Linked DNA regions of Homo sapiens: all the other regions are linked to region 4. The links are contacts of gene promoters, found by promoter capture Hi-C in blood cells and fetal thymus (Javierre and others, 2016). All regions are on one chromosome and are shown on one strand. Each heading gives the region's core, a stretch centred on a gene start or on the middle of the fragment in contact. The rest is flanking DNA. Distances are from core to core; before and after follow the strand shown.

Region 1 (3,121 bases), core at 470-2,969, 940 kb before region 4:
CAGTGCTTTGGGAGGCCAAGGTGGGTGGATCATCTGAGGTCAGGAGTTCGAGACCAGCCTGACGAACATGGAGAAACCCCATCTCTACTAAAAAATACAAAAAATTGAGGTCTGTTCCAAGATGGCCAAATAGGAACAGCTCCGATCTGCAGCTCCCAGCGTGATTGACACAGAAGACGGGTTATTTCTGCATTTCCAACTGAGGTACCTGGTTCATCTCATTGAGAGTGGTTGGACAGTGGGTGCAGCCCACAGAGGGTGAGCCAAAGCAGGTTGGGGCATCACCTCACCCAGGAAGCGCAAAAGGTCTGGGGATTTCCCTTTCTTAGCCAAGGGAAGCTGTGACAGATTGCACCTGAAAAAATGGGACACTTCTGCCCAAATACTGTGCTTTTCCCACAGTCTCAGCAACTGGCAGACCCAGAGATTCTTTCCTGTGCCTGGCTTGGCAGGTCCCACACCCATGGAACCTTGCTCACTGCTAGCACAGCAGTCTGAGATCAAACTGGGAGGCGGCAGCCTGGCTCGGGGAGGGACGTCCACCATTGCTGAGGCTTGAGTAGGTAAACAAAGCAGCTCAAACTGGGTGGAGCCCACCGCAGCTCAGCAAGGCCTACTGCCTCTGTAGACTCCACCTCTGTGAGTAGGGCATAGCTGAACAAAAGGCAGCAGACAACTTCTGCAGATTTAAATGTCCCTGTCTGACCGCTCTGAAAAGAGCAGTGGTTCTCCCAGCACGGCGTTTGAGCTCTGAGAATGGACAGACTGCCTCCTCAAGTGGGTCCCTGACCCCTGTGTAGCCTAACTGGGAGACACCTCCCAGTAGGGGCTGACAGACACCTCATATAGGCGGGTGCCCCTCTGGGACGAAGCTTCAGGCAGAGGAAGGATCAGGCAGCAATATTTGCTGTTCTGCAGCCTCCACTGGTGATACCCAGGTAAACAGGGTCTGGAGTGGACCTCCAGCAAACTCCAACAGATCTGCAGCTGAGGGTCCTGACTGTTAGAAGGAAAACTAACAAACAGAAAGGAATAGCATCAACATCAACAAAAAGGACATCTACATCAAAACCCCATCTGTAGGTCACCAGCATCAAAGACCAAAGGTAGATAAAACCACAAAGATGGGGAGAAACCAGGGCAGAAAAGCTGAAAATCCTAAAAACCAGAGCACCTCTTCTCCTCCAAAGGATTGCAGCTCCTAGCCAGCGATGGAACAAAGCTGGATGGAGAATGACTTTGACAAATTGATAGAAGTAGGCTTCAGAAGGTCGGTAATAACAAACTTCTCTGAGCTAAAGGAGCATGTTTAAACCCATCAAAAGGAAGCTAAAAACCTTGAAAAAACACTAGACGAATGGCTAACTAGAATAAACAGTGTAGAGAAGACCTGAAATGGCCTGATGGAGCTGAAAACCATGGCAAGAGAACTTCGTGATGCATGCACAAGCTTCAATAGCCGATTTAATCAAGTGGAAGAAAGGGTATCAGTGATTGAAGATCAAATTAATGAAATGGGGTGAGAAGACAAGTTTAGAGGAAAAAGAGGAAAAAGAAATGAACAAAGCCTCCAAGAAATATGGGACTATGTGAAAAGACCAAATCTATGTTTGATTAGTGTACCTGAAAGTGATGGGGAGAATGGAACCAAGTTGGAAAACACACTTCAGGATATTATCCAGGAGAATGTCCCCAACCTAGCCAACATTCAAATTCAGGAAATACAGAGAACACCACAAAGATACTCCATGAGAAGAGCAACTCCAAGACACATAATTTTCAGATTCACCAAAGTTGAAATGAAGGGAAAAATGTTAAGGACAGCCAGATAGAAAGGTTGGCTTACCCACAAAGGGAAGCCGATCAGACTAATGGTGGATCTCTCGGCAGAAACTCTACAAGCCAGACGAGAGTGAGGGCCAAAATTCAACATTCTTAAAGAAAAGAACTTTCAACCCAGAATTTCATATCCAGCCAAACTAAGCTTCATGAGTGAAGGAAAAATAAAATCCTTTATAGACAAGCAAATGCTGAGAGATTTTGTCACCACCAGGCCTGCCTTACAAGAGCTCCTGAAGGAAGCACTAAACATGGAAAGAAACAACTGGTACCAGCCACTGCAAAAACAGACCAAATTGTAAAGACCATCGATGCTATGAAGAAACTGCATCAATTAATGGGCAAACTAACCAGCTAACATCATAATGAAAGGATCAAATTCAAACATAACAATATCAATCTTAAATGTAAATGGGCTAAATGCCCTAATTAAAAGACACAGTCTGGCAAATTGGATAAACAGTCAAGACGCATCAGTGTGCTGTATTCAGGAGACCCATCTCATGTGCAGAGACACACATAGGCTCAAAATAAAGGGATGGAGGAGGATCTACCAGGCAAATGGAAAGCAAAAAAAGAACAGGGGTTGCAATCTTAGTCTCTGATAAAACAGACTTCAAACCAACAAAGATCAAAAGAGACAAAGAAGGCCATTACATAATGGTAAAGGGATCAGTTGAACAAGAAGAGCTAACTATCCTAAATATATATGCACCCAATACAGGAGCACCCAGATTCATAAAGCAAATCCTTAGAGATCTACAAAGAGACTTAGACTCCCACACAATAATAATGGGAGACTTTAATGCCCCACTGTCAATATTAGACAGATCAATGAGACAGAAGGTTAACAGGGATATCCAGGACTTGAACTCAGCTCTGCACCAAGCAGACCTAATAGACATCTACAGAACTCTCCACCCCAAATCAACAATATATATTCTTCTTAGCACCACATCGCACTTATTCTAAAATTGATCACATAATTGGAAGTAAAGCATTCCTCAGCAAATGTAAAATAACAGAAATCACAACAAACTGTCTCTCAGAACACAGTGCAATCAAATTAGAACTCAGGATTAAGAAATTTACTCAAAACTGCACAACTACATGGAGACTGAACAACCTGCTCCTGAATGACCACTGAGTAAATAACGAAATGAAGGCAGAAATAAAGATGTTCTTTGAAACCAACGAGAACAAAGACACAACATACCAGAATCTCTGGGACACATTTAAAGCAGTGTGTAGAGGGAAATTTATAGCACTAAATGCCCACAAA
Region 2 (3,006 bases), core at 481-2,980, 880 kb before region 4:
ACACTTAAAAGTAGAGCCAGCACAAGATTGAGCAATAACACTGTTGAGTATTTATCCAAAGGAAAGGAAATCAGTATATTGAAGAGATACCTGTACCCCATGTTTATGGCAGCACTATTTACAATAGCCAAGATATGGAATCAAACTAAGTGTCCATCAGCAGATGAACAGATAAAGAAAATGTGGTAAATAAACACAGTGGAATACTACCTGACCATAAAAAGAATAAAATTATGTTATTTGCAGCAACATGGATGAAACTGGAGGTTATTATGTGAACTGAAATAAGCAAGGCACAGAAAAACAAATATCATGTGTTCTCACTCAAATGTGAGAGGTTAAAAAAATAGAACTCATGGAGATAGAGAGTAGAAAGAGGCTGGGAAGGGTGTGTGTTGGCGGTGGGGGGTGGGGGGCATTGGGGGAATGAATAAAAATTGTTTAATGGGCACAAACATACATACAAACATACAATTAATAGAAGAAATAATGTTTGATAGTACAGTAGATTTACTATAGTTAACAACAACATATTGTAGATTTCAAAATAGCTGGAAGAGAGAACTTGACATATTCCCAACACATGGCAATGATAAATATTTGAGGTGATGGATAGCCCAAATACCCTGACTTGATCATTCCATATTCTATGCATGTAACAAAATGTACAAATATTATGTATCAATAAAAAGCTAAATCTAAACATGCTTCTCTTAAAAATATAGAAATTGACAAAGCCAGAAGTCTAACAGGCAAATAAAATAGATTAACTTGAAAAGGCTAATAAAATGGGTAAATGTTTGGTAAAATGATCAAGAAAAAAAGAGGACAGATAACAAATATAATAAATGGAAAAAATGACATTATTATAGACCCTTCAGAAACAAAAAATATCGAAGGAGAATATCATGAATGACTTACAGTAATACATTTGAAAATTTTGGTGACATTGAGAAATTTCTAAAAAATCAAAACTTACCAAAACTGATGCAAGAATGGAAATAAGAAATAAGAGTGTTAATATAAAATTTTAATATGAAATAATAAGAGTATAAACCATCAATATCTTTTGCTATTAAAATATTGAATTCTGAATTCAAAAAGTAAACAAATTAACCCAAATAAAACCAAACTAAGCTGACCAATCAAACAATATCTCTTCTTTCCACAAGAACAAAGACATCAATTTAGAGCAATTCTACTAGAAAATAAAAAGAAAACATTCCTCAACTTGTTTCATGAGGCAAGCGTAACTTTGAAATGAAAACTTCTTAAGAATATTTTGAGTAAGAAAATTGACAAGCCAATCTTACTCAGGAACATAGATATAAAATCCCTAAACAAAGTATTAGTAAACCCGGAATGGCAATACACAAAAAGGATGATACATCATGATTAAGTTAGGCTTATTATAGGAATGCAAAATTGGTTTATCATCATAAAAATCCGTGGACTTCACAAATTAAAAAAGAAAAATCATATAGTCTTCTCAATATATACAGAAAAAGCTTAGACTAGAATTCAATTCCCATTCATGATCAAACATCTTAGCAAACTGTGAATAGAAGGGAGTTCTTAATTTAATAATGGGTATCTACAAAAACATCCAGAAATATAATACTTAATGGGGAATGCCAGAAACTTTCATCTGGATTTGAAGAATGGAACAATATGGCTGCAAATTTACTACATATTCTTCAATGCTGTCTTGAAGAGCCTAACTGATACAGTCAACCAAGACAAAGGAACTACAAGAATTGGGAAGGAAAAAATACAATTGTCATTGCATTTCAGAAGATATAACTGCATAACTAAGAAATCCTCAGGCATCTATAAATAAATTATTACAATTTAAGTGAATTTAGCAAGATTACTGAATAAAAGGCCAATTAAAAAGATAAAAATATATAAATTGCATATCTACTACACTGTAGAGTCTGAAATAAGCTTCAAATATGAGTGTTAGCTAACTCATCTAGCTAAATCCAAAATTTCAAACTCAGAGGTGACTCTTAATCTTATTTTTTTCTTTCAACTCCCTAGGTATCTGTATTCCTAGATATTTTATTCTTTTTGTGGCAGTTGTGAATGGGATTGCATTCCTGATTTGCCTCTCTGCTTAGATGTTGTTGGTGTATAGGAATGTTGCTAATTTTTGTACATTGATTTTGTATACTGGAACTTTGCTGAAGTTGTTTATCAGCTGAAGGAGCTTTTGGGCAGAGACTATGGGGTTTTCTAGGTATAGAATTATGTCATCTGCAAATAGTGATAGTTTGACTTCCTCTCTTCCTATTTGGATGCCTCTTTTTTCTCTTGTCTGATTGCTCTGGCTGGGACTTCCAGTATTACGTTGAATAGGAGTGGTGAGAGAGGGCATCTTTGTCTTGTTCTGGTTTTCAAGAGGAATGCTTTCAGCTTTTGCCCATTCAGTATGATATTGACTGTGGGTTTGTCGTAGATGGGCTTTATTATTTTGATGTATGTTCCTCCAATGCCCAGTTTATTGAGGGTTTTTAACATGAAGGGATATTGAATTTAATTGAAAGCCTTTTCTGCATCTATTGAAATAATCATGTGGTGTTTGTTTTAGTTCTATTTAGGTGATCACATTTATTGATTTGCATATGTTGAACCAATCTTGCATTCCTGTGATGAAGCCTACTTGATAATGGTGGATCAGCTTTTATATTTATATATATATATATATATATATATATATATATATATATATATATATATATATATTATACTTTAAGTTCTAGGGTACATGTGCACAACGTGCAGGTTTGTTACATATGTATACATGTGCCATGTTGGTGTGCTGCACTCATCAACTCGTCATTTACATTAGGTATATCTCCTAATGCTATCCCTCCCCCATCCTCCTACCCCACAACAGGCCCCAGTGTGTGATGTTCCCCTTCCTATGTCCAAGTGTTCTCATTGTTCAATTCCCACCTATGAGTGAGAACATGCAGTGTTTGTTTTTTTTGTTCTTGCGAT
Region 3 (2,870 bases), core at 208-2,707, 900 kb before region 4:
TAGAGATTTTTGTTGTTGATTTTATTTGTAGAAAGAGACATTCTTTAACAACTGCAGGCATGTTAGGACTTTGCCCTTTGAAAATCTATTAGTAATGATATAAAAATCCTTCCGTGGTCTCTTTTGGCAGAAACTGAATTAAATCTTCAGCTGCTCTCTGAATCACTCATTTAAAAGTTTCAGTGATTCATATGCAAAGCTTGAGTTAAGAGAACAAAGACCTGAGCGAGTTTCTGTAGGGCTCGGCCTAAGCAAAGTTGTCACGCAGAACAACATGAGTGCTGGGTCCCCTACCCTTGGCCCTGACAACCTCCATCCGAGCAGCAACCCCTATCCAACTTACTGCTGCCCTGCAGCCTCCCAGGTGCTGCCCTGGGAATGCCCTCAGAACGGGTCCTGTCCTCTGATCCTGACTCTCCTTCCTCTTCTCATCCATCCCCCTGAAATGATCCTGTCCTCTTTATGGCCTCCATTATAGCAAAGAAAAGAGAAGGAAGAAGAGAGGAGTAGAAAAAGAAGTCTTGTGGGAGGAGCAGACAGCAGGTGCTATGTAGGGCATTTGAGGGCTCTTTTCATGTGCTGTGAAGAAGTGGGATGAAATGAAAATCTTTTTGAAAAAGCTGGAAGCTGTTTCAGATCTCCCCCTGCCCTGCTCCCCACCAATTCAATTCCTGCTCCCAGGGGAAAGTGCAAAATAACTTTCTGTGGAATGAAATGATGACAATGACTTTGGATCCAATAATGTTATCATAACCTGGAAATAACCTTTCCATCTGAGGCTTGCAAAGGCAGTGAAGTGTGAAACTCAGACTACAGTTAGAGAAACGAAAGAGACTTGAACTCAGGACCCTTTGGACATTTCCTTCAATATCAAAGAAAAGTTTTTATTTCTCTCCTCTGAAAATAGGGTAGGAAATGGGTAAGTGATAAACAGAGAAAAAGGCAGAAGCAATACCTAATTAGAAATCAAACTAAGAGAGGAAAAGAAAAATGGGTTCAGATTAATGTCAGGTTTGGTTATTCCAGGATCTCAACTTCGTTGCTGTTATCACATACTTTCAGAGGCATTCAGGTCTTGTGATGCCGTGTGCTTGAGTGTTTTTCTTACTCTTGGAAGCTGAGGATTAATACTCAGGGCTGGGCACACAGGAGAAAAGGGTTTGTTAAGCATCCACTCCTGGTTAAGCTAAAAAATGTACATAGAACTTGAAAGCACCCAACTCAGTTCCAGAGGGATGAAATAAACCTAAAAATAGGTGAGCTCTGGTTGTATTGGGGCTGGCCTGAAAACACACAAGAAAGGAGCACTTGAAAGAGAAGGAAAGAGGAGCAATGTGCATATTTTACATGGATATACACATTTGTGTCTACATATTTATATACAAATGTACAAACTCCATGTGTGCTTCGTTTGTGTGTGCATATTCATATTTATACATATGTATATATGTAGAGTTCACAGAGCATACCCACACAAATACACACCAGAGGTGCTGACTTTGAGCTCTGTAAGAAAAAATTTACTACTCGGGAAGAAATGAAACAGGCCTTTTGAGGACATTGGCCATACACTACCAGGTATACTACCTTTTGGAGGGCAGATCATATGTTTTGCATATGTTTATTTTGGGTAGGAGGAGACTCAGGAGCAACATAATAACCACTTCAAAATTTTAGAGGAATATCCTGTGGAAGAAGGGTTTAACTCATTCCGTATGGTTCCAGAAGAGAGAACTGAGACTGGAGCATAGCAGATTTCTGTTCTAAATGAGAATGACTTTCTAACAATTAGTACTAAACAAAAGACACGTGTATTTCTTCTAAAAGTAGTTAACGATATGCCTGCTCTTGTAAATGACATGTGGCAGAGGATGAATGGCCATCTGTCACAGAAACGGTAGGGGGTATTCTTCCATTAGGTGGGGGTTTGGACTACAGCATTAGCTGGACCAGCTCCATTCTGAAATTCAGTGGTTCTCTGAAATACATAAATGAGTTTTGAGGCAAGGCAAGTCAGATAATGGTTTTGATTTACTGATTGCTTTTACTTCATTCAGTGACTTAGGAGCAGAAAACTCCTATCTCAATAGTTCCTATAGATATCTATTTTTTTGCCTTCTGTTTGATTTCTATTCTTCCTCCTTTTCTCTTTACCTTTAATTTTTGTGTTTCTATTATCTTTTCCTTTTCTTTTCTTCTTCCTCCCCATGCCCTCTAGATATAAGGATGGAGTAAAGGCAATGTTTGTCAAGAAAGCAACAAGGAAGAAAAAAGAATAGAGAAAGGAAAACTTTGAACTCAGTTAACTTTTAATTTTCACTTCAAATTTTGGCTGTGTGTGAGTATGTGAATGCATGTATGTATACTGGATTGTGTATGTGTTTGTGTGTGTGTGGAGGGGTGGGATAGAAACAGAGAGAATGTGTGAGTAGGTGAATAGACCCTCAGATGTTTGGAAATGCTGGAAGTTAGGTACCACTTCTTGTTGTCACGATGCCTAGTGGGTGCTAGTAGTAATTAATGGCAAAAGGGGAGGAATGCTCTATGTCCTGCAATATGCATGTCAGTGCCATCCAATCATGTATTATACTACCCTACATAACAGGGCCCCATTGAGGAACACTAGGGAAAGGCTGTGGAGACAGACTGTCTGGGTTTGAATCCTGGTTCTGCCATTTTTAGCTTTGGGATCTTGGATAAATACTTTAAGCTTTTTGGGTGTTTGTTTTCTCTTCTGTAATATGAAGGGTAATAAGAACACCAACCTCACATTACTGTCAGAATTAAATGAATTAGTATGAGTCAAGTGCTTAGAAAAGCACAGACACATAAAACACATTCAACAGTGTCATCTATGATTTTAATTTTTC
Region 4 (3,199 bases), core at 74-2,573:
ATACAGTTTTATAGTCTATTAATTGTTGGTCCAAGAAAACAGATTACCTCCAGTTGTATGTGGGTACCTTAATGAGTAGGACAAGTGTCAGGGTGTGTGACAGAATTGCCTGAGTATGGAAGGTAGCAGTGAGAGTCTCCACAAAAATATTAATACTTTCCTATAGAGAAAGCCCCTTTTAAAGTGGGAGCCTTTATTAAAGTCCAGAGTTAAAAAGTAAGCTCTTTAACGTTGAGATTATAGACTTTTAGAAAGTTCATTTATGCCATGTTTCAGGCCTATGCTAAATTCTACGGCAAAAAGACCTGTAAATGCACCGGAGCTGACAGCCTGGGTCCTGGAACCCTTCCTCACGCTGCTACTACGGGGCACCCTTTCTATAATACAACCCCCCGAATGAAAACACTAATGCAAGCCTGGCCCCACAAAAACCTAGATAATGCTTACGTTGAAGACGACAGGTTTTTCGCTTTTGTTTTCGGTTGAGGACTTACTACCCCAAAAACACATCCGACCTGTACTAGAATAGGTGTGTGAGGGAGCGGGAAAAGCTCGGGTCATTTTAACTGGACTAGAAAGGAACACAGCGATCCCCTCACTAAACTTGTCGCCAAGTTCCCTCCTCGCCATCCCAGGGTGCGGGAAAAACCCCCTCCCGCCCCGGGGCCCCGGCAGCACTCGGGGACGCCAGCACGCCGGGCTCCTTCCCACCCGCGAACCGCGCTCCCCGCAGGGCGGGCCGGGGCGGGGAAAAAGGAGCTCGACGCGAAGGGCCGCGGGCGGCCTGGGAAGGGAGGAGGGAGACTTGGGAGGCTGCCGGGCGGTTTTATTGTTTCCTTTCGCCCTCCTCCTACCGCGCCTCCGCCCCAGCGTCACTGGAAAGCCGCCCGAGCCGCCCGGCGGCAGGTTATTTATAGCGCGGGCTGCGCGCGCGTCACGGAGCCCGGCCCGGCTGACGGGGCCGCTGACGCGCTTGGCCGCGGGGCCGAGTCCGCGGGGCTGCGCGCCGGACGCCGGCGACAATGGGCTTCTGTGTGCAGCTGCCGCAGCCGCCGGGGGCCGGGGGCCGGGGGCCGGGGGAGGGGGGCGGGCGACTCCCCGGCTCCCTTCTTGGTCGGCCGCGACCCCCCGAAAGGTAACAGGCCTCTTTCGCCCCCGGCCAGGACCTGGGCCCTGTGGGCTTTTTTTTTTTCCATTTTATCAGTAAGTTCCCCTTGTCCCAGCCTCCGCTTTCACTTCCCGCGTTCCCTCCACCCCAAAAACCGCCCCAACATGTCCAGAGAGGGGCATCTACCCAGCCGCCCAGCCAGGGGCGACCACTTTGTGAGCCCCGGGGAGCGGGACCCGTACCAGGCGCGCCCAGCGGGGGATGCGGTGACCGAGGGGCCGGGAGCGCCGGGCAGGTAACGTATCCTGGACCTAGAGTCGGGGGACTTTGTTTGGGGCGGGAGGAGCGGAACAGGGGTGGGTGTGAACGCCGGACGGCCCTTCCGGGACTCCTGTCCCCCCTCCTTCGCCCCACTCGCCTGCGCGCTGGAAGCCAATCTGGGTGTGTAGCGCGAAGAGCGAAAGAGAAACTTCTGCGTGACTGACTAGATGAGGCTCCTCCCGAGAAGCCGAGATAATAGAGGCCCCCTCTCCCGCCGCCCGCCTTTTTCTCCTCCCCCGGCCGCTCGCTCCTGTCGCCCCACCCCTCGAAGGCTGCGGACCAGCCCCCCACACTTCCCCCTACACCTCTGGCGGGTTCGCGCCGTGGACGCCCCCGCCCTGCGGGAGGAGGGGCTGGCGCGGATTTTAGGGACTTCCTGGGATGCGGAGATCGGCTCTGAACCATCCCCTTTCTGCTGCCCGGAGCTGGGGAAGCTCGCTGTGGAGCGTCTCGCACGTGGCAGGCAGGCAGAGAACTTGCTGCACCTTCTAGGAAATTGCAATCGATTTGTAATGCACTTTCGCTAATTGGGAGTTCAAAATTAAACTTTAATAAAGCATTCGTGTCGTCTCGTCTAATTGTGAAAGCTTCCATCCGTCCTGGTAGATAGACTCTAAGTCTCAAGTTAATGGCGCTAAGCTAGATTTTCCCCCCAAGTACAATTCCGTCAGCCGTCGTCGGCGCAGCTGGATTTCCGTAAGGTACAGATGTTGCTAATGACAGCTTAAGCACGGATGGGCAGATAGCATACGGAATGCAACATGTTGCCATATGGTTCCTTTAGCCTTTCACCTCCAGGGATATCAATCACATATATTCTGGGAGGAACTTAATGACTCTCTGAACAGCAAAATGAATTACCTGGTACAATTTATATCCCTTGACCTGATACGTTATAACAACAGGAAGATAGCATCTCGCAATTTCTGTGGTATAAATTGAACTACAGAGCTACATTTAAAATTCTACATCTATTTGTAGTTTAAGGGGCCCTGTCATATTCTGGCTGTAAAATCTGTTTCTGTATTGCCCATCTCCTTCCCCCTCCTACCTCTGGAGGAAGCAAAATTTATAAAGTTTAGCAAAACTGGTGTCGGAAATTGCCAGTCAACTGATTAATAGATGAAGTATGGAGAAATGGAAAATATGACTTCCAGAGCTACTTACTTCAACAAGAATTAGCCATCTTTAGGAACACCATACTTTTAAGCGTACAAAATTAAAGAACTCCAGAAAATGTATTTTCTGCTAGTTGTTTCAGTATAGCTCCTAAATCTATTCATTAACTATTTGAAATTCTCCATTTATTTTCAAACTTCAACCATTCCTACACTTTGGAAATTACAGAAGACAGTTCTCAGAAATATGAAATACAGGAAATGTAAGTAGCACCTCCTCAGCGAACCAGTTTCTGTACCCACAACCCCATGCACTCACTATTTATGTAGCTTAATTTGAATCATGTACATGGTGGTACTGGTAGTTTGCTTTTTCCTCCCAACATGTCAGTGACAGCATACTTAAGTTGCTGCTTCTCTCCTAGTGGAGTGATTCTGCAATATTTCACAGGTCTCATTTTTAAATATCCTGGTGACTAATAAAATGTTTTAATTGATTGCCTTTAATTTCAGATTATAAACGTGGTTGTCTTACTGTATCCTTTATTTTCTATTCACTAATACAGATAGATCACACGGGAAGACAATACTTTAAGGGCAAAAAGTAAAATAACTTACTAGAATTTCTAAACTTTATGTTTACTTTTACCTA
Region 5 (3,025 bases), core at 62-2,561, 960 kb before region 4:
GCACCTATAAGAGTTATGAGCTATGTTCCCTGACTGACCCCTTCAAGCCTTTTGACTGCTTAAGCACTGAATCATAGATAAATTGAGTCCTTCAAAGAACAGCAGATTCCAGCTGATTCCCTGTCAGAATCTTCTTAATGACCCAAGCAAGCTACAATTCATTATAGGAAAGTCACGAAAGCTAATACAGAGCCAAGCATAAAGGCACTTTCTGGCAGGCCCCCAGGTTTTTAATGGATTTACAGGGTCAAATATGGAGGTAGCTTTCTTTAAGTCACCATTTAATGCAGAAAAATGTTGATTTCCTTTCCCCCTTTGACATCCTGGGCAGGGCTAACAAGATGATGGGTTAACAGTGCAACTTAGGGTTTTCAGATTTCTCGAACAGCTGTGCAGAGCCGAATCTATAGGACATGTCCTGGGAAAGCCTCCTGAGCTGGGAGGAGCTGAAGTCTTTGTTGCCAGGGACACTATTTGTGTCCTTCCTGTTCTATGATGCCTAACAAAGAGCTCTAACTCAGGGTGCTGCACTGATGCAGACTGGATGCTCACAGAATTGCCAGACTTCATAAAAGGGGGCTCAGTACATTGGTCCTCAATTTTACATGCTTAGCTTAGTGAACAAGAAAGTAAGGGACATCTTCAGGGATCAGAATATGCGGAAAAAATTAAAGGCTACAGGGAAACTTGCAAAGGTTGGCAAGAAAGACTTGTTCCCTCATATGGATGGAAGAAAAACAGAGGTATGTGTAAACCAAAAATCTGGAATTCAGGTCTTCCACATAACAGCGGAAAAACAGATCTTCAGTTGAATGCTGCACTGGGAAAAACAATTTGCCCATTAGCAAAGGGAGAAAACAAGGAAGCTGGATTGTCCCTGAGAATCTGAAACTTTACACCAGGCTTCATTTGGATTTGAGATGAATATTTACACCACCTGCCTTGGATAGGAACCATCACAGACTTTCAAGGCATAGAAACAAACATTAAAAATAGTACCAGGTTGTTAATTACTTCTGAGGTGCCTGGCACAGGCAGAAACAAAGCAACTATGGAAGGATGGAATCTCTATCAAAAATCCTCAGAGAAAGCTCTATTAGCAATTTAAAATGACAAATATGGGAGGAGACAGCTCACTGTTAGTAAATGTGGGCATCACAAGGCACAGAAGGATTCAATGCCCCCACAGTCCCACCCCTGAACTTCAGAGAGGAAGGTGAATAGAAAGACATGAAGGTAGAATAATCTCGGGGCTTAAAGGAAGGAAAGCATGCTGCAATTGCTCTCTGTACTGAAGCAGAGATAAATATTATGTAAGCTCCTGTATTTGTGGATCATGCAGAAATATTCTATCTTCAAACAAATTTGGAAAATTCTGGTTTCCACAGAGCCGAACAGGTGGTTCTACTCCAGAACTTCTCAAAATCTTCAGGGTGTTAATGTTCAGCTTGCTGTCAGAATGTTGTACAAATGTTTCTCAAATGTGCTTGACCATGGAACCCTGAGACAGCACAAGTAACATTGGTCAGGACAGTGTTTGGGAACCCCCTGTTTAACTATTTGTGTCTATTTTGTATAATCCTTCCAAGAACCGAAAAGCATTGGAAGGAAAGATAAAACTTTTCTGTCCCTTACATGTCCCTCCCTCATTTGACCTGAAGATTTTTTTTTCCTTTTTCTTAGAAATTACTGAGGAAACTATTTAATTGAGGTTTTTGCCATGGAAGGTACTTTTACACCAACCTAATACTTTTCTTCATATAGACATCATCTCTGAAGTGTTTTGGAATTGTTATTCTTCATTTCATTATTAGTTGTTTTCAGAATTTTCCTTTTTATTTAAAAATAATTGATCCATGTTTTTACTGTAAACCATTTTAATCTTTAAAAAAAATAGGCAGTGTATGAATTTTAAATTATCCATGTTGTATTATTTCATTTTCCAATTTAGGAAGTAGACATTCCGCACAATTTATGACAGAATTGTTAAACATTAGGCTATTTGCCAGCGGTTTAATCCAGTGTAAAAATACATTATTGGTGAGATTCTTTCATTAGCTTCAAATGTTGTCGTTTCAATAAGAAAATATTTCTTCTTATTACAAAAAACCAAAACTTTCACTGGATTTAAATTTCTGCTTGTGGAGGTTGAAAAAAGGGAAACGGAGCTATAGACTGTTTGCCAGCAGTTTAATCCAGTGAAAAATACATTATTGGTGAGATTATTAGCTTCAAATATTGTTGGTTCGATAAGAAAATGTTTGTTCTTATTACAAAACACAAAACTTTCACTGGATCTAAATTCCGTAGTGGAGGTTGAAAGAAGGGAAACGAAGCAAGTAACAAAAAGAAGTTGTGGAGTTTATTTTCTTGGAACTTTCCACGATTGTCTATCTAAAATAATGATCTACTTAATTTGTTGTAAATTACCTGGAGAAAGGTCCTAATTTTTTAAAAATGTTAATAACGCTCCCTGCTGGTTTGCTTCAGAAGGGAGCAAACTACATCTTCACTGAAATTTGTTTAAGGAAGACAACAAAGGAAAATAGAAGGAATTTGTTAAAATCACTTTTTAAAATACTTGGTGCATTTTGATATAGTATAGCGGAGGCATCAGCAGAAGGCTGTTTCATTAGGAGAGCTCTCCAGAAATTTCATAGGAACTCACTCAGGTTAGCGCAACAGCGGAGCCCAAAGGTAGTTTTCTAGTGCCCTCTGGTGGTTAAAGCTTATTATTACTCTGACTGAGATTCTGCGTTGCTGGAATGGGAAATATTAGAATAGTGGAAATTCCTTTCTTTTTTTTTTTTCTGCTCAGCGGTTGAAATTAAAAATTGTAAATTTATTTTACAGTTATATTTGACATGTTGTTATTTGAACAGTGTATATAAATCCAAAATGTCTGATAAGTTACCAGGTTGAGCCACTTAAAGTAGCTGCCATTCTATTTGGACCCATAAAAATGGCAATTTTATAATACAGTGCGTTATCTAAAAACAGGTCACATAAACTTATTTATCAGTTG
Region 6 (2,846 bases), core at 159-2,658, 840 kb before region 4:
GGATGAATAAATAAACTAGGCTTTTCTATGGTGATGGTTAAAAAGGCAGACATCTGGGTTAAACTCAGTGGTGGTGCCAAGGGCAGTAGCCAACCCAGTCTCCATCAGCTCCCTTCATTCCCAAATAAAAATCTTACTTTTAATATGGCCAATGTAATCACTTTTATATAAAGTGTGAGTAAAAGTTTAGGAAACTTTTATATTGATATTGATCTGTAACATACACACTAAGTTAAAAAGAGTGTGCTTTCTTTACAAACATAGCCTCATGGCAAACCTCCCAGCTTCGTCTTCCAACCAGATGGCCTCCCCTAAGCCCTACCCTACATAGAATTCTCAAGATGAAGCTGGCCCTCCTCAGATCCAAGTCAGAGTATCTATGGTAGGACCAGGAATCAGCTTTTTCCACAAGCTGTGAGGTGAGTCTAGGTAACACTAAGGTCTTAGTATATACAACCTCAGAGCTTCCTATTCTTACATGGATTCTTTACTACTTGTTCTAATTCAAGGCTCTTACAATACTCACTGACTTTGCAGTGGTAGCTGTAAATCTCAGAGTTTTATGATTGCCTGAAGTTGGATGAAAGTTGATTTCATTATCCCTTTTGTGAGACTGAGTGAATGAAGAAGAAATTACACCACAAGCTTGGACAGGGCAATAACAGTGAAACTGCATGTTACTTTGAATGCAGACTTCTTGTTCTGCAAAAACTACAGAACTATTCCTGGAAAAACAAGGCAATAGCTTTTATTTATTTATTTATTTATTTAATCCTGAGATACATATAGGTAGGGCCAACAGGCATATACAGTGCTTTGATGCATATGAGAGAAATAGCTTTCCCCAAGGGGACAGATTTGAAAAAAGTGCCCCCCACTGACAATGCCAATTAGAAAAAGGTGTCTGCATCTTAAGTTGACTCCAGGATGGCTGAGAGAAGTCTGGCCTTCCAGCTACCCTGTTGTCTTCTTGGCTGAAGTCTTACGTGGAGTGCAACAGCTCAACTGCACAATTATATGAGGTAGAATTCCTGATACTGGGAGTCAAAACCTGGTCTCTGGTGATGGGGCAAGAATGAAAGAGAAAAGTGAGCCTTTAAGGGGATATCAGCGGTTTGTGGGGTCCAAAGATGAGCCCTTATCTTTGCTATACAAGAAACATTTTTGTTTTAAAAAGTGCTTTTTGGTAAAATGTGATAAATCTCCACTTGTTTGAATGACAGAGAGTTGTAATTAATACTCTTACTTTTGAGAAAACCATAAAGTCATTTATACAGTACTGATGGTACTGAGGGGAGGGATGGACACGCTCTTATAGTGGAAACAATGAATCTCTTGGCAGCTGGACAAGAGGTTAGAGAGAAAATACTTACTTTTGAGTGGAGAGCTCCTATGGCTACCTACAGATCTCCATCTCTGCTACATACAGGCTACGTGATTCAGGGCAAGTCATGTCACCAATTTAAAATGCACATCTACTTCTTGGGAGTTGTGAAATGCTTTAACTAGTGCTTTATAAATTGAAGAGTGTCAATGGTAGTGATTATTTTGGAAGAATATATTTTATCATAGTAGGGACTTTGAAAATTTTTAATGCCTTTGAAAGCCCATGTGTACATTACACATTTCAAAGAAGCAAATGTAGACCTTTAAGGTCTGAATGTTTGTCTTTTTCTGCATTGACTGCCTTCCTGAGGAACTAATTCAAAAGTATTTGTGCAATACTGTCACAATATAGTAAATGTGGTTAAATGAGGGAAATTGCTTTTTCCCAAGGGGTCAGATTCAAAACAAGTGCCCCCTGCTGGCAACACCAATTAGAAAAAGGTGTCTGCATCTTAAGTTGACTCAAGGATGGCTCAGAGGAGCCTGGCCTTTTAGCTATTCTGGAAGAGGTTATTACAAAGAATAGATATTAAGTTGGTGCAAAAGTGATTGCAGTTTTTGCCATTGAAAATCATGTCAAAAACCACAATTACTTTTGCACAAACCTAATAATTCAACCCTCTGGCAAATTAACATCAAAGATTATGGGAAGAGTAAGCGTTGTTTTTGTTGTTTATTTGTTTGTTTGTTTTTGCTAGATATGATTTTTTTTTTTTTTGGACGGAGTCTTGCTCTGTCACACAGGCTGGAGTGCAGTGGCGCGATCTCGGCTCACTGCAAGCTTCACCTCCTCCCGGGTTCAGTCCATTCTCCTGCCTCAGCCTCCCAAGTAGCTGGGACTACAGGTGCACACCACCATGCCCAGCTAATTTTTGTATTTTTAGTAGAGATGGGGTTTCATCATGTTGGCCAGAATGGTCTCGATCTCTTGACCTCGTGATCCGCCCTCCTCAGCCTCCCAAAGTGCTGGGATTACAGGCGTGAGCCACCGCGTCCGGCTCAGATATGACTCTTAATGGGTCAAAAGGGAGTACGTAAAGAAAAAAAAGAAAAAAATTCAAGAATTTTTTGAATAGGGCATCTGACTGGATGGAATTTTTGTGATTCTCAAAGTTTAGAGTTCATTGGTATATGTTAGAATCATCTGCAGTCTTGTTTGAACTGTCATTCTTGAGCTTTATACCAGAGGTTCTGATTTCTTAGATCAGAGATCTGCCCAGAAATTTTACTTTTAATAAGCACCTGATATAGTCAAACTCCTGGTGAAGGGATCTTCCCACATTAGCCCTTCGAGTAGCTAGGACTATAGGCATGCACCACAATGTCTGGCTAATCTTTTTATTTTTATTAGAGACAGGATCTCACTATGTTGCCCAGGCTGGTCTTGAACTCATGGCCTAAAGTGATACTCCGACCTTGGCCTTCGAAACTGCTGGGATTATAGGCGTGAGTCACTGCAC
Region 7 (2,942 bases), core at 97-2,596, 920 kb before region 4:
AACTAGGATGCCTGTGTACACTAAGAGTAATTGCAATTTAGAGGTCACAGCTACCTCATGGTCCAGGTGGAAGGAAGCCACAGTTGGATTCTGAGCAACATTGAATTAGAATGTGTGCAAGAGAATGGTGAGGATGGAGGGAGGCTGTGGGAAGGGACCAGTGAATGAAAACCTCAGTGGATGGTTACAACTGTAAAGGGTGGAGAAGAGCAAAGAGATTAGCTTTTCTTATGCTAAGGGCCCAGCTTGGAGAAAATGTCATGTGCAGGGTGCTATTGCTATACCACAAAGGGGAGAAACATGGGCAGACAGAAAAGGACAGTGTGAGTAACCCTGAGAACAGAAAGGAGTTCTTGTGCTTTAGAAAAGAGGTGTGGGCCGGATGCGGTGGCTCACGCCTGCAATCCCAGCATTTTGGGAGGCCAAGGCGGGCAGATCATGAGGTCAGGAGATCGAGACCATCCTGGCTAACACGGTGAAACCCCGTCTCTACTAAAAATACAAAAAATTAGCTGGGCATGGTGGCGGGTGCCTGTAGTCCCAGCTACTCGGGAGGCTGAGGCAGGAGAATGGTGTGAACCCCGGAGGCGGAGTTTGCAGTGAGCCGAGATCGCACCACTGCGCTCAGCCTGGGTGACAGAGCGAGACTCCATCTCAAAAAAAAAAAAAAAAAAAAAAAAAAAGAGTTGTGAAATTGAATCTTAACATTTTAGCAATGGTCCTTTGGGACTCCAGAGAAAACGGAGTGAAAAAGCAGGTTTGGAAAAGAGAATCTGATTTTAGAACTAGAGTAAGAGAAGTTGTCCTGGAAATCCCTGCCTGTCTCCTCTACCTTTTTATTGTTGTTGTTGTTGTTGTTGTTGTTGTTTTCTGAGACAAGGTCTTATTCTGTCACCCAGGCTAGTGGCACAATCTTGGTTCACTGCAACCTCGACCGCTCAGGCTCAAGTGATCCTCCCACCTCAGCTTCCTGAGTGGCTGAGACTACAGGCATGCACCACCACCCTTGGGTAATTTTTAAATTTTTTTGTAATGATGAGGTCTCACTATATTGCCCAGGCTGATCTCAAACTCCTGGGCTCAAGGGATCCTCTAACCATGTCCTCCCAAAGTGCTGAGATTACAGGCTTGAGCTACCATGCCTGTCCTCTACTTCTTAATGGTAACCTCACCCTAGCACATCAGCTCATTCATCTTTAAGATGATGTTAACTACCGACTAGTTATTATCTTCACTGGGTGAAGTTGAATTTAAATGATTATACCAAATCTGTGCGCTTTTTTTTTTTTTTTTTTACATTTTTTGGTTCATTCTGTATCAATGAGCAGTTGTGATATGACAGTTATGTGTGAATTCATCTATAACAGTGGATTTTGGGGAAATGAATAGGCCAAAAAGGAAGATATTCTCCAAAACTCTTAAAATTTAAAGGTTGCAGTAGGATGCTACTCCAGCTAATTTTAAGCTAGCCCTCCTGTATTCTTACAGTTATTTCTCTCTCTCTTTCTTTCACACACATGTACTCATTTTCTTATTCTATTTTATAACAATTTCCCCTTATGCTGACTTCGAAAACTTATTATCTTAAAAAATCTTATTGCATGCATTCCTGTAAGCAGCTACCTCAAACGCTTTTTGAGCCAGGCTGAAAATAAATAAAGCCAAATTTAAAAAAACAAAAACAAAAAACACTCCAAATCTTGCCAAACTGATGAATCAAATGTTTTTTGATTGTATTTTCTTTAACCTTTATCTATATGAATACATAATTTACACATATTTATAGTCAAGGTGTTTGGGTAAAAGAACAAAAAATGATTTATCCTCTTTCAAAGAAGAGGACTACAAAAGGACTGAAAAATACTTTGGGAGGCCCCAGGTCCAGGATCCCTGGTGGTAGACCCCTGAGTGGAGCGTAGCATCCGCCAGGCAGCTTGAGACACACCTATATTTAGCCAAGGTGGGTTATGTGATAAGAGGGAGGAGGCCTGGCCACATGCTCTCTGACTCATCCTCTCAAGCACATGTGTCAATTTTTCCTACAGTTGGGACAACCTCCTTCAGAAGACAGAGCCTGACTGTAACTTTCCTGGGCTGCAATGCTTAACTTCTACAGAACAAAGTATAGAAACTAAGAAGCACTGGGAGTCCCCGAGCTTTCAATGAGCCACACTAGTGATAACATCGTTATTACTTGCTTTGAGCACCCCCACCCCCGCCACGCATGTGCCTTTTCTCTGGTTTGGAACTGGAGCTTGTGCTTCTGTGCAGTGTCTAATTCCTCCCCAGACTCCCTAGCAGCCTGCCAGGTCAATAAGGGCATGTTAAAATGAAACTGCTTTAACGGCTACTTCATTTCCTTGCACTTTGTGTTCAAAGCTGGCATGTGTAATCCTGTGATACACAGGACTTTAGATTAGAGCTGGGCCAACACAATTTTTAGGATCCTTTTTGAGGGGAGATTGGCAAGAGATGGAAGAGAGTGCAGAATAATTTTGAGCATGAATTTTAATCATTTCTCTACAATGACTAGCTTTGTGACCACAGGCAATCTAGCATCCCAGGGCCTCAGTTTCCTCATCTTTGAGTATGTCTGCATTCTCCTCAAGACTGTGATTATCACCAGGGTGAGAAGCGTGAATGGCACAGTGCTTGGTATAAGCAGTGCATGGCTGATAGCTGTTTGCTGATGGCTAAGAGATGGAAAACGACCTGGTTGTAGCCGACATCACAATGAAGAGACTCTTCTTTCTAATGTGGATAAAGCTTCTCCTGTATCTGCCTTCCTCCTAGTAACACTGACTAAAATGTAATGCTGACTACCTAGATCACAAAGAAGAATTTTCTACAGAAGCCAAACAAGGCCATTGTTTACATGCCACATGTGCTAAGTCTCAATCTTGACATTCCCCAATCCAACTTCCTGGCAAATATTGTTTGAC

The links. Contacts are between HindIII fragments. The CHiCAGO score rates a contact against its expected background, and 5 or more counts as called.
Region 1: a contact is called between a fragment that was not itself captured here and the fragment with the promoter of FLJ46875 in region 4, in 1 of 17 cell types (erythroblasts). The highest score is 6.7, in erythroblasts.
Region 2: a fragment that was not itself captured here is called in contact with the fragment with the promoter of FLJ46875 in region 4 in 1 of 17 cell types (erythroblasts); the score reaches 6.6 in erythroblasts.
Region 3: a contact is called between a fragment that was not itself captured here and the fragment with the promoter of FLJ46875 in region 4, in 1 of 17 cell types (erythroblasts). The highest score is 7.9, in erythroblasts.
Region 5: a fragment that was not itself captured here is called in contact with the fragment with the promoter of FLJ46875 in region 4 in 2 of 17 cell types (erythroblasts and naive B cells); the score reaches 7.4 in erythroblasts.
Region 6: a contact is called between a fragment that was not itself captured here and the fragment with the promoter of FLJ46875 in region 4, in 2 of 17 cell types (endothelial precursors and M1 macrophages). The highest score is 8.0, in endothelial precursors.
Region 7: a fragment that was not itself captured here is called in contact with the fragment with the promoter of FLJ46875 in region 4 in 1 of 17 cell types (erythroblasts); the score reaches 22.0 in erythroblasts.

What each region holds. Positions count from the first base shown.
Region 1 is chr2:157,276,946-157,280,066 of GRCh38, reverse strand. All of the region lies in intron 1 of GALNT5 (polypeptide N-acetylgalactosaminyltransferase 5), which reads right to left. Among named protein-coding and RNA genes, the nearest start is that of GALNT5, 21 kb to the right of the region's middle. The HindIII fragment of the contact is 534 bases long and covers 1,453-1,986 here.
Region 2 is chr2:157,224,741-157,227,746 of GRCh38, reverse strand. No RefSeq gene overlaps it. Among named protein-coding and RNA genes, the nearest start is that of GALNT5, 31 kb to the left of the region's middle. The HindIII fragment of the contact is 439 bases long and covers 1,511-1,949 here.
Region 3 is chr2:157,243,902-157,246,771 of GRCh38, reverse strand. No RefSeq gene overlaps it. Among named protein-coding and RNA genes, the nearest start is that of GALNT5, 12 kb to the left of the region's middle. RefSeq lists a silencer at 148-237 and an enhancer at 1-811. The HindIII fragment of the contact is 2,511 bases long and covers 202-2,712 here.
Region 4 is chr2:156,340,244-156,343,442 of GRCh38, reverse strand. It overlaps FLJ46875 (a long non-coding RNA gene), which reads left to right and starts at 1,323. Exons shown (of 1, transcript NR_147695.1): 1 at 1,323-3,199. RefSeq lists enhancers at 42-101, 1,309-1,862, 1,863-2,418 and silencers at 512-1,121, 1,662-1,761. The HindIII fragment of the contact is 3,407 bases long and covers 1-2,018 here.
Region 5 is chr2:157,302,368-157,305,392 of GRCh38, reverse strand. All of the region lies in intron 7 of GALNT5 (polypeptide N-acetylgalactosaminyltransferase 5), which reads right to left. Among named protein-coding and RNA genes, the nearest start is that of ERMN, 22 kb to the left of the region's middle. RefSeq lists a silencer at 2,704-2,783. The HindIII fragment of the contact is 2,838 bases long and covers 1-2,730 here.
Region 6 is chr2:157,178,021-157,180,866 of GRCh38, reverse strand. No RefSeq gene overlaps it. Among named protein-coding and RNA genes, the nearest start is that of GALNT5, 78 kb to the left of the region's middle. The HindIII fragment of the contact is 1,522 bases long and covers 648-2,169 here.
Region 7 is chr2:157,260,561-157,263,502 of GRCh38, reverse strand. All of the region lies in intron 1 of GALNT5 (polypeptide N-acetylgalactosaminyltransferase 5), which reads right to left. Among named protein-coding and RNA genes, the nearest start is that of GALNT5, 4.3 kb to the right of the region's middle. The HindIII fragment of the contact is 2,845 bases long and covers 1-2,768 here.